Regions from separate parts of the Homo sapiens genome. Here region 2 is linked to region 1. Evidence: promoter capture Hi-C in 16 types of primary human blood cells and fetal thymus (Javierre and others, 2016). All regions are on one chromosome and are shown on one strand. Each heading gives the region's core, a stretch centred on a gene start or on the middle of the fragment in contact. The rest is flanking DNA. Distances are from core to core; before and after follow the strand shown. Region 1 holds the start of DNAJC5B (DnaJ heat shock protein family (Hsp40) member C5 beta). Region 2 overlaps LOC102724687 (a long non-coding RNA gene).

What was found. Contacts are between HindIII fragments. The CHiCAGO score rates a contact against its expected background, and 5 or more counts as called.
Region 2: a fragment that was not itself captured here is called in contact with the fragment with the promoter of DNAJC5B in region 1 in 1 of 17 cell types (endothelial precursors); the score reaches 6.1 in endothelial precursors.

What each region holds. Positions count from the first base shown.
Region 1 is chr8:66,019,042-66,025,464 of GRCh38, reverse strand. It overlaps DNAJC5B (DnaJ heat shock protein family (Hsp40) member C5 beta), which reads right to left and starts at 3,912. Exons shown (of 6, transcript NM_033105.6): 1 at 3,760-3,912. It overlaps LOC105375883 (a long non-coding RNA gene), which reads left to right and starts at 3,984. Exons shown (of 7, transcript XR_929008.3): 1 at 3,984-4,041; 2 at 4,232-4,442. The HindIII fragment of the contact is 2,733 bases long and covers 3,745-6,423 here.
Region 2 is chr8:66,395,995-66,402,096 of GRCh38, reverse strand. The region is part of intron 1 of LOC102724687 (a long non-coding RNA gene); the gene reads left to right. Among named protein-coding and RNA genes, the nearest start is that of RRS1-DT, 30 kb to the left of the region's middle. The HindIII fragment of the contact is 1,194 bases long and covers 2,749-3,942 here.

The DNA of each region.
Region 1 (6,423 bases), core at 2,663-5,162:
CAACAAAAGCCAAAATTGACAAATGGGATCTAATTAAACTAAAGAGCTTCTGCACAGCAAAAGAAACTACCATCAGAGTGAACAGGCAACCTACAACATGGGAGAAAATTTTCGCAACCTACTCATCTGACAAAGGGCTAATATCCAGAATCTACAATGAACTCAAACAAATTTACAAGAAAAAAACAAACAACCCCATCAAAAAGTGGGCGAAGGACATGAACAGACACTTCTCAAAAGAAGACATTTATGCAGCCAAAAAACACATGAAGAAATGCTCATCATCACTGGCCATCAGAGAAATGCAAATCAAAACCACTATGAGATATCATCTCACACCAGTTAGAATGGCAATCATTAAAAAGTCAGGAAACAACAGGTGCTGGAGAGGATGTGGAGAAATAGGAACACTTTTACACTGTTGGTGGGACTGTAAACTAGTTCAACCATTGTGGAAGTCAGTGTGGCGATTCCTCAGGGATCTAGAACTAGAAATACCATTTGACCCAGCCATCCCATTACTGGGTATATACCCAAAGGACTATAAATCATGCTGCTATAAAGACACATGCACACGTATGTTTATTGAGGCACTATTCACAATAGCAAAGACTTGGAACCAACCCAAATGTCCAACAATGATAGACTGGATTAAGAAAATGTGGCACATATACACCATGGAATACTATGCAGCCATAAAAAATGATGAGTTCATGTCCTTTGTAGGGACATGGATGAAATTGGAAACCATCATTCTCAGTAAACTATCGCAAGAACAAAAAACCAAACACCGCATATTCTCACTCATAGGTGGGAATTGAACAATGAGATCACATGGACACAGGAAGGGGAATATCACACTCTGGGGACTGTGGTGGGGTCGGGGGAGGGGGGAGGGATAGCATTGGGAGATATACCTAATGCTAGATGACACGTTAGTGGGTGCAGCGCACCAGCGTGGCACATGTATACATATGTAACTAACCTGCACAATGTGCACATGTACCCTAAAACTTAGAGTATAATAATAAAAAAAAAACATTAAAAAAAAAAAAAAAAAGAATCCTGAAACTAAAACTTCTTTTATCCCTCTGTTTTTCACAATTAGCTTTCTTCTGCAGTTATACACTGTAGTGTGTGTAAAATTACTCAGTATATTACACAACTTTTAAAATTAATAAGGAAGCTGAAAGTTATTACAACAACTGTGTAAAGCCTATGCCATGATGGAATGCTCTTTCTTATGCTCCTTCTTGTTGGTAATTGCTTCATAATTATCTTTTATTAAAGGCAACCTGCATGTAATACCAGAAACATATGGAAAATCCTTACAGGAAGTACACATTTTAGTTGGCTAAAAAACAATCTAATGGCCTAGAAAATACTTACCAGACATCTCTAAGGTTAATGATGGCGCTGATGACTATAAAAGTTAGGTCTCTATTTATATTTAAAAATTCTTCATTTCATTTCATTTTCTTTCAGAATTTGGATCTTTGGGCTGATATTAGTACATTTGCAATAAATTTAATTGGAAAAACGCTGACTACCTGCACCCAGGGACTGCCTGGGCTCAAACTTGCAGATTAATTACGGATGCAAGACATATATAGCTTCATGTATGTCAAACCCTGGACAAGTCTAAGGAGGCTCCTCCTACACTATCATGTTAATTCCAAATAGAATATTAATTCATGGGATAAGTCACAGAAGGCTCATATAGAAGATATATTAGGTAAGTAAGTGTAGGTCGGATACCACGGATGGATGTAATAGCCAGCCCCACACCTGCCAGATAAAGTGTTTACTCATCTGTACATTCAAGGGTATACACACACACATTCATAAACAAAGTATTATCTACCTAAACAGGAAAAGACAAGGCCACAGGAAGACCGTATATTTATTATAAAGTAAAAATCTGGTAAATTGTATACATGTTTTTTTAAGAAAAAAAGGATTACTTCTAATCAGCCCTCAATTTACAGTAGCTAGTCAATTTCCCTGGTTTTATTTTCACTGTTATCTCAGTGTTTTGAATGGGGTCTTCAGTGCTTTTTCTTGTCATTGACCAAAGCTTATCTTGTATGGAGGTGCAGAGGCTAGGAGAATATCTGCTTTTACCAATAACCACACCAAGGTGATAAATGAGATTTCCTCCTTTTAGAATATTCTAACTTAGAAAATCAAAGAGTTAGTTCAAATATGAACCAATACATTCATTCATTGTGGGGCAGAGTGTATTGGAGAGGCCACCAGGCTAAGAGTGAGGGGGCTTAAACTTTAGTCCCCAGCACTAACTAGCTTGATACCCTTAGCTGAGACACTTCTCTGTGTGGTTTCTCCTGGAAACGAAGCTGTGGAATGGATGATCTTCTAGTTCCCCTCCGACTCTAAAATTCTGCAGTATGCGACAGGCTGCAGCAGCATGTGACTAACACAAGGATCAGGGAACGTTACAGTCAACAAATGCAAATGGAGATGAGTTAGGACATTCTGTGTTTTGTGGGTATTATCTGAGGTTCAGCTTAAACTTAGTTTTCAATGGCTATCAATGAAGGAAGCCTAAAAACTGGGCCAATGAGATTTTAATGTTCAAGTCTTAAGTGGTTATGATTAGATCATAACCTAATTGTGAAAATCACAGTGACTTCTGTACAGAAGTTGAATGTGTGCTATGAAGTTTATGTGCAAGTATATTTTGCTTTTATCTGGATCTCTCAGTTTTACATGCTTTGGGGACTATTACTACTTTCATAGAGTGTGAGAGTATTGACCTTACTGCTGTGATATATTTATTCGTGATGTGTTGGAGGCCAAGGAGAGTTAGAGTTGTGTCCTGTGGATAGAGAATCCATCTCCTCCTCTTCTTGTCGATGGCTGTTGGGGTCCCCTGTGGGTAACTGACCTACCTGTCAGAACATGGACTCTTACTCCCACTGAGGGAGCATCGCCATCAACTCTGACCTTGCAGGCAGAGCTCAGCGTGCCTGCCTGAGCTGTCCTGTGCTCCAACTCCGGGGTCGCAGTGTGCTAAGACCCAAGGGAGTCCACATGGGGATGAGTCAGGGCCTGGCGCTGGCCCCATGCTCCGCCCCACTGGTAAACAGAACAGTTCTTTGCCGTCACTCAGAGCCTCTCAGGGCCCCAAGACTCCAGGAAGAAACAAGTATTGTAGAAGCCAAAACCCCAAGGCAAGGTAAAGAAAACAGAACTGTCCGCATCCCCAGCAATGATTTCACTGGCAGGAGTTGCTGGGGGCGGGGTGGGGGGTCCGGTATATGTTCCAGCAGAGCTGTTTTACTTACTTCTCAACCAAAAGGCCCTTCTCTTTTACTCTTTATAGGGGTATCCTTTTGCCTTTCAAGATTTGAACTTTCAAAACTTGACCTTAGAGTCAGTCTTGCTTGCTAACCCATAATACAACTTTGCACCTTTTATTACTTTTGTTTGTTTTTGTACTGGCTTCTATTAAAATACTTCCTTAGTTAACTTATTTTTGTTTACTCTACCCTGTCATCCGGGGAGGAGCTATTGAAAGAAAAAAACCTCTAAATAGAAATATATCACCAGCAGCACAAGTGGACTACAGCCTCGGAAATGTCCTCACCGTCCGGCTTCATGGCAAGCAGCCTGGCTGTTGGCAAGATGCGCCCAGCTCTGCTTCTGCTCGTGTGGAACCTTACATTACCCTAACGCAGCTGGGGCACAAGCCGTCTGTGCTTATACTATTCTTCTTAAGCTTGGAGACACACTCACCTTGAGATCTCTCCTCTTTTTCATCTAGACACTGGCAAGTCCTGTTCTGAGCTTAGCAATGCCAAGTACCTGAACTGGAGGCATGGCTGGCTGATCCCTTCTAGCTCCCTCCAGTAGTGTCCCACCTTGGCTATATCAGTAACTGCGCCTCCTGTTATTTCTCCTTCCCAGTTGTCAAGGTCAAACCTGGGCTGGATATTGTGATGTCACAGAGTGGAATCCTCACTCCTCCAGATGGTCCAGCTGAGGCCCTCTTGGACAACACTTCCTCTCCTGCCCATGGTGGGAGGTTGGGAAGGACATTCCCCCATTTCCATTTGCTCTGCCATTCAAAACCTTGTGAGGGCCCTCAGGGAAGAATCCCTTTGCAGGTCATAAACTGACCTGCAGAATTATGGGATCTTAACTGTGGGGAGAGACCTAGAAGACCGGCTAGTGACCAGATTCTCATCTAACTCCTTTTTTTTTGCAGATGAGGAAACTGAGGCCCCACGTGGTGAAGACAATTTTTACCCGAATCCACCCACAACAAGAGACCATTTGGATAATGTACATTATGGGAAGAGAACAGAGTCTCAGTGAAGATCATGTTTCCCCAGCAACACAGGTGCCAGGAGTAGCTGGCTCTGGTCCCAGCCCAGACTCAGAAATCCTGAGCCACCAGACCATTTCTAGATTAACAAGTAAGGTGACTTCTGAGCAACTAATGTTTTCATTGAGATTTGATGATAAGCAGCAAAGCTCAAATGAAAGTCCAGAGTTAGTGTTGGCAGGGCGAGATGGCTCATGCCTGTAATCCCAGCACTTTGGGAGGCTGAGGTGGGAGGATCACTTGAGCCCAGGAGTTTGAGACCAGCCCGAGCTATATAGTGAGACCCTATCTCTACAAAAAATACAAAAATTAGCTGGGCGTAGTTGTGCGTGCCTGTAGTTCTAACTACTCAGGAGGCTGACAGGGGATGATCGCTTAAACCCAAGATATCGAAGCTGCAATGAGTTGAGATTGCACCACTGCACTCCAGCCTGGACGGCAGAATGAAACCTTGTCTAAAACACACACACACACACACACACACACACACACACACACACACACACACACACACACACAGAGTATTGATTACAGCGCTATACCAGGTTCTAGTGTTGAGTAAGGGACAGGGAGGAGCAATCTGTAAAGAAATAGAGTCTCACTGGAATTTCATTCTTCATTATTTCATACCCTTCACTTTTTCTAGACGCTAACCCCATATGATACTAAAAAGTATCTGTATTGCATCAGACGACGTATCTGTGAAGTCAGAGAATTGTGCTTTAAGAATCTCTCAAGAGGAGAACATATATTGGGCTTTCATAATACCAATAACATTTTACATCATGCTTCATTTACAAGCTATTTTCACACATATCACTCTATTTAATCTTCACAACTTGGTGAGATAAACAAAGTATTATTTTCAGTATAATTTTCTGGATGAGAAAATTATAGCTTAGAGAAGTTGTGTCTTGCACGAGATCACAAAGCTAATTAAGTGGAAAGGTTACTTAACATTAACTACAAACCAGATCTTCCACCAAGCCTTTTCCCCACCACAGGGCTTTGCTGGTTGGGGAGAAATTGTCATTTGGTCCCAGAACACACTTGAAGGCCACTGCCTTAAGCAACCCTTTGAGTAACAAGGAAGAAAGTATTCCCGTAGGTCATAAATACTGCTTTACTAACTTCCTAAATGTCTTCATAAAATCTTAGGGAAATGGTTAATGGACACTAATTTTAAACTTTAAAATAATATAATTATTGCCCTTTCTTCCAACAATTCCACATCTGTGAATTCTCCTAAGAGAACCATTATGGATATGAAAAATATTTAGCTACAAGAGGTTTTTTGAAGCACTGTTTATAACAGAAAACAAATATAAAGCTCAGCATTGGAAAAGTGGTAAAATGGATTATGCTGAACTCATGAAAATAATGTCAGGGTTTCCCACACTTTGATTATTCATGTGGCATCTTCAGAATATTGCCATCTGCACTAATATTTACTTAACATTTTCCTTTAAATTAATTCATACATTTTACTGGAATAAAATTATTTAAAGGTATTTTTTATTATTAACATAAGTAGAAATACAGTATTAATTGCCTTAAATGTCAGATGACAATAAAAACAAATACAATGAAAACAAAGTAATGTTATTAATGCATGAATTTGGTCCCAATACCTTGAAGAAAACATATGACTGATTTAATAAAATCACAAGTAATCCCTTTTTTTGCCATCACAAACTTCACCTTTCTGCATTAAAAAATCTCTTTTTTCACCTCTGATCTATAAAAGGTTCAATGGAAAAAAGATATGCAGTGTGTGTCTGACCCCAAATCACAGTTAGATATATTTATGCATACCTTGCATACTAAATCAGTAATTCTCAAAACTTGCTTGAAAGGTCACCTTGCTTAGAACAGGGTATTCCTCTGGCAGGATATGCAGGGATCAAACCTCTTTGCTCAAAGCAGTCTTCCTCCAGCTATCATCTCAGGGCAAATAAAAATGACATCTCTCCTTGTGTTTTGTCTTGGCTGAGCATACTCAATACTGTACATTCTGTGGAGGTGTGGGTTATGCCGCATCCTTTGAGCATACATCCCTGTGTTGAAACAGG
Region 2 (6,102 bases), core at 2,096-4,595, 380 kb before region 1:
CTAAGGAACCTGTTAAGTGTGTTTGTGCAATCTCCTGGAATTAGCATTTTCTTGAAAGGGAACCTGTGTAATCCTTTCAAGTGTCTGGTGTGTTTCTCTGAGTAACCAGTTATACTTTGTGAGGACTTTCCAATTCATCAGACTATAGTATAGTTTCATGTGCTCTTAAACATCATCAGCAAGCAAAAAATAGTAAAAGAAAAAAAAAGTCAAGATTAGAAGGAACTGGAAAACTCTCATGGGAATGCAGGTTTCTAAATGTTAAGACCAGAGAATTACATATGGTTGAGAAACAGCAGCATCTTTTCTGAAACATTAATGCTCATCCACACCAAAGTTGTTATAGCTCAGAGCAAGAGAAATACAACTTAAAGGTGAATGATCAGAGTTGCTATGGAGATGATGCAGGAAATGATTCAGAAGGTTGCTCGGAAAAATATTTCTTTGAATATTGATAAATCTTATTAACATGTGTTAGTCTATGGCTATTATAAAATGAATTGAATATCAGGGATTCCTAGTGACTCTGCCCTTAGGCTGTGCCCATCGTTTGTGACCTACAGTTAGTGGCCACAACAGGTATGAAAATGGGAACTGCCAAATGACACTGTATGCCACAGAGTTACACATGCAGAGTGGGTGGTTTTCAGATTTGAGCGTGCATGAGAATCATAATGGTACTTATTACAAGAGTTGATCTTATTCCGATTCGGGGGGTCTTCAGAAATGTTTTGTGAAACATTACTTTAAAATGAAAGAATGGGAAGCATCATAGGGTGAGGTTTTGACTGGTTTCTTTTATAAATGGTCTTATTCATACTCTTCAGAAGCCATTCCTTCAGCTACAAAATGTTAAGCTTCCTTGAAGAAGGAAATTTGGTAAATAATTTTTCAGGTGATGACAAAAAGAGCCCTTTATTCATCTGCTCATGATGACTCCAAAGTTTATACTCTTGGCCCAGAACTTTTGTTTGAGCTCTAGGTGTATATATCCAACTGCCTACTGGATATCTCTGCTGGAACGTCTGATAGAAGTCTCCCCCTTCATGCAGCCATACCATAATCCTCCCTCCGAGTCCGCTTCATCTGTGGTTTTCCCTGTTTTGTCAATGGCAACATCATTTTTCCAGGGAGCCAAGCCAAAAAACTTGGAGTCATCCTTGATTCTTTCTTTTTTCATTCCCCATATCTAATTGGCCAGCAAATTCCTTTGCTTCTATATTCAAATATATCTAGAATCTGAACATTTCCCCCACCTTTTGCGATATCCTGGTCCATGCTTTTAGCCGTCTTTCACCCGGGTTGTTGGAGTTTTCCTAATTTTTTGCTTCCATTTTTGTTTCTTTATAGTGTGTTCCCAACACAGCAGCTAGAGTATCCTTCTAAAGTTAAAGTCACATCCTATCTCTCTTCTCTTCTGCCCTAAGCCCTGCCATGGCTCCTCATGTCACTCAGAGTGACAGCCAAAGAACAGAGATTGACTTACACGGTTCAAGATCTCTGACTTTTTCGGGCGTGGTGGTGGGCATCTGTAGTCCCAGCTACTTGGAAGGCTGAGGCAGGAGAATGGCGTGAGCCCGGGAGGCGGAGCTTGCAGTGAGCTGAGATCATGCCACTGCACTCCAGCCTGGGCAACAGAGTGACTCCGTTAAAAAAAAAAAAAAACTCTGACTTTTTTTTTTCCTTTTCAGAAACAGGGTTTCATTCTGTTGCCCAGGCTAGCCTCAGCCTCGTGAGTAGCTAGGACTACAGGTACACACCACCACAAAACACCTGGATTTTTTTTTTTTTAATTTTCTTAGAGACAGGTTCTCATTCTGTGGCCGAGGTTGGGCTCAAACTCCTGGCCTCAAGCGATCCTCTCCTGCCTCAGCCTCCCAAAGCGCTGGGATTATAGGCATGATAATCCCATGATAATTACAGGCCATGCCTGGCCACTCTCTGACCTTTTCTTACACCTCCCTCCCACCTACTCACTCTCCTCTAGGCTCAGTATCCTCCTCACTATTACCTGAAGCCACAGGCTCTTTGCACGGGCTGTTCCCTCATGGTCCTAGCTGCCAGGAGTGCTTGTTCCTGGGATATCGGAATGGCTCCCTTTCCCACCACCTTCAAGTTCTGGCTTAAACACTGCCTTCTCTAAGGGCCAACTCTTAACTCCTTTAATTAAACTTTGACCCCCTCCCTACTTGCCCCTCTTCTGCACTGTGAGACTGCCAATCTCCTCTGCCCTGTTTGATTTTCCATAGCACCTCTCCCTGCTAACATGCTGGATTATTAATTTAATTTTTTCATTGATGGATTGGTTTAGTGTTATTTATTTTTATTTCTCCCACAGTAGAATATAAGTGCCACAGGAAAGCAGTTTTTTTAATCCATTTTGTTCATTGATGTGTCCCTAGTGCTTAGAAAGGTACTTGGCACATACTAGGTGCTCAACAAACATTTGCTGAGTAAATGGGATGAAATATTTATGAAGTGGTTACTAAAAGTCAAGCACTGTTCAAAGTTCTAGGAATATAGCCATGGACTAGACTGTCCCTTCCTTCTGAGAGCTGACATTCCTAGTGGGAACTAGTTGCAAATGACAGAACTGCAGAGTGGATAGCACTTTGTGTTGAGAATGCAGCATGGTGGAGCTGGTAAAGCAGCCACAGCAGCCAGGGATACAAGAGAGCACTTAGTAGTGGCCCTAAGCAAGAGACAGAGTGGATTGCAGAGGGTAGGGTGTGCAGGAAAGGTAAAGCTTCCAGAAAACAGAACACTTCACAGTGTTCAAAAGTACAGGAATTACAGAAAAGAAGAGTGAGCATGAAGAGTAAAGAATGTGCAGGAGAAAGAGAAAGAAAACTTACATAAATAGCATATAATAAAAACTCTAAATAACAGTGGCTCAACCACACAATTATTTATTCTCCCACATAAAAGAAATCCATAGGAAGGAGCGAAGTCTTGGATGGAGGCTTCATGATTCTGTCCCATCATCCTCAGCGCATACCTTCTATCCTCAAAATCACTTCCCAGGAGACAAAGGAAAGGCAAAAGATGCGCATCGCCTCACTGAGGCATCGTCCAGAACGTGCCACAACAGTTCTCACTGAGTAGAGCTCAGTCACATGGCCACACCTGGCTGCAAAGGAATATAAGAAAAGTAGTCTTTTCATCTGAGGCATTGCCACTACAAATATCTCTGCCTTAGGAATGTATGAATAAATTACAGTTCATTTAGAAGAGGACCCGAGATTGAAACACAGTGTAAAAGAGCTGAACCAAGACCCTGAATTAATCATACCAGGGAGGAAGGATTGATGGTTAAAATTTTACTATCTGCATAATTTATCATTAGCTCTTTCTATAAAAATAAATTTTACTGTGTATATTTTAGATATATGTATACAAATGTGTACACATATGTATATATATACACATATATATGGTAGAATAAATTAACATATTCATTATCTGATATACTTATGCATTTTTCCCCCTGTGGCAAGAGCAGCTATCATCTACTCATTTAGCAAAACTCCTGAATACAATACACTACTATTAACTACAGTCGTCATCTTATACACTGGATCTTTTGGCTTGTTCATCTTACTTGCTACTTTGTATCCTGTGACCTACATCTCCCCATTTCCTCTCTCATTAGTTTTTTATATTTAACCGACTGTTTAATATGTATATTTATAATTTCATCCCTAGTGTGGCTGTTTTTCAGTATCTTTTTTGTTTCAAGCCTCAGTATAAGAACATCAATCATGTATTATCTAAAATAGAAATACCCAAATCTGGTCCTCTGACTGATGGGAAACAAGTATATGGGTGTTGAGTGGTGATTAGCAGGGAGGGAGATTTCATAGTTACAAAATTGATGACTCCCAGAAGGGACAGTTAGAGTTAAAAATGAAAGAATGCTTTGGTAGTTATCTGATGAAAGCTTCTGATATGGAACATTGGCTTTATGAAACTAAGACAATTTTGTTGTATCTTTCAGACCAAATTTTGAGAATCTTTTTTTTTTTTTTGAGACGGAGTTTCATTCTCATCACCCTGGCTGGAGTGCAATGGCATGATCTTGGCTCACTGCAACCTCTGCCTCCTGGGTTCAAGCGATTCTCCTGTCTCAGCCTCCCAAGTAGCTGGGATAACAGTCTCCCACCACCATGCCCAGCTAATTTTCGTATTTTTAGTAGAGATGAGATTTCACCATGTTGGCCAGGCTGGTCTTGAATTCCTGACCTCAGGTGATCCGCCCACCTTGACCTCCCAAAGTGCTGGGATTATAGGCATGAGCCACAGCACCCAGCCAAGAATCTTTTAAAAGAGGATCAGGAGTCATTTAAGTTTTTAAAAAATATTTGTATTTTTTAAAAAATGTATTATTATTTTTATTTCCATAGGTTATTGGGGAAAAGGTAGTGTTTGTTACATGAGTAAGTTCTTTGGTGGTGATTTGTGAGATTTTGATGCACCCATCACCCAAGCAGTATGCACTGCACCCAATTTGTGGTCTTTTATCCCTCACCCTCTGAGTCCCCCAAATCCACATGTTTTTCTTATGCCTTTGCATCTTCATAGCTTAGCTCCCACATGTGAGTGAGAACATATGCTGTTTGGTTTTCCATTCTTAAGTTACTTCACTTAAAATAATAGTCTCTAATCTCATCCAGGTTGCTGTGAATGCCATTAATTCATTCTTTTTTATGGCTGAGTAGTATTCCATTTGAGTAGTATTCCACAGTTACTACTGAGTAGTATTCCACAGTTTCTTTAGCCACTCATTGATTGATGGGTATTTGGGTTAGTTCCACGTTTTTGCAATTGCAAATTGTGCTGCTACAAACATGTGTGTGCAAATATCTTTTTCATATAATGACTTCATTTCCTCTGGGTAGATACCCAGTAGTGGGACTGCTGGATCAAATGGTAGTTTTACTTTTAGTTCTTTAAGGAATCTCCACACTGTTTTCCATAATGGTTGTACTAGTTTACATTCCAGCAGCAGTGTAAAAGTGTTCCCTGTTCACCACATCCATGCCAACATCGATTTTTTTTTTATTTTGGCCATTCTTACAGCCAGCTGATCTTCAACAAAGCAAACAAAAACATAAAGTGGGGAAACGACACCCTATTCAACAAATGGTGCTGGGATAATTGACAAGCCACATGTAGGAGAATGAAACTGGATCCTTATCTCTCACCTTATATAAAAATCAACTCAAGATGGATCGATGACTTAAATCTAAGACCTGAAACTATAAAAATTCTAGAAGACAACATTGGAAAAGCCCTTCTAGACATCGGCTTAGGCAAGGATTTCATGATCAAGAACCCAAAAGCAAATTTAATAAAAACAAAAACAAATAGCTGGGACTTAATTAAACTAAAGAGCTTTTGCACTGCAAAAGGAACAGTCTGCAGAGTAGACAGACAACCCACAGAGTGGGAGAAAGTCTTCACAATCTGTATATCTGACAAAGGACTAATATCCAGAATCTACAACAAACTCAAACAAATTAGCAAGAAAAAACAAACAATCCCATCAAAAAGTGGGCTTAAGGACATGAATAGACAATTCTCAAAGGAGGGCATACAAATGGCCAACAAACATATGAAAAAATGCTCAACATCACTAATGATCAGGGAAATGCAAATATTTGTATTTTAAACAAAAAGGAATAAATGCACAGTGAAAAGTAAGTCTTTTTCTACCCCAGGCCATCAAATCCCTAAACCTCTAGGCTTCTAGTGCCTCTTCCCAGAGCAACCTGTCTTACTAGTTTCTTGTATAAGGAATCATATAAAGCTGGTGAACCACATGAAAATGAATGCTTGCTTCTTATTATCCACAGTATGAACTTTGATTTGCAGGGATTAACAGGAAGAGCAAGCACAAATAGGACCATCTCTAGAAAACCCCTCCTTGATTATCCCAGGCAGATGTTCTCAGTGCCTCCCAAGCTTCTTCATGGCTTAAAAAAATTGTACTGAAATCCATAACATAAAATTTACTATTTTAATTGTTTTTAAAATGTACAGTTTAGTGGCATTACGTATGTTCTCATTGCATAGCCACCACCACCATCCATTTCCAGAACG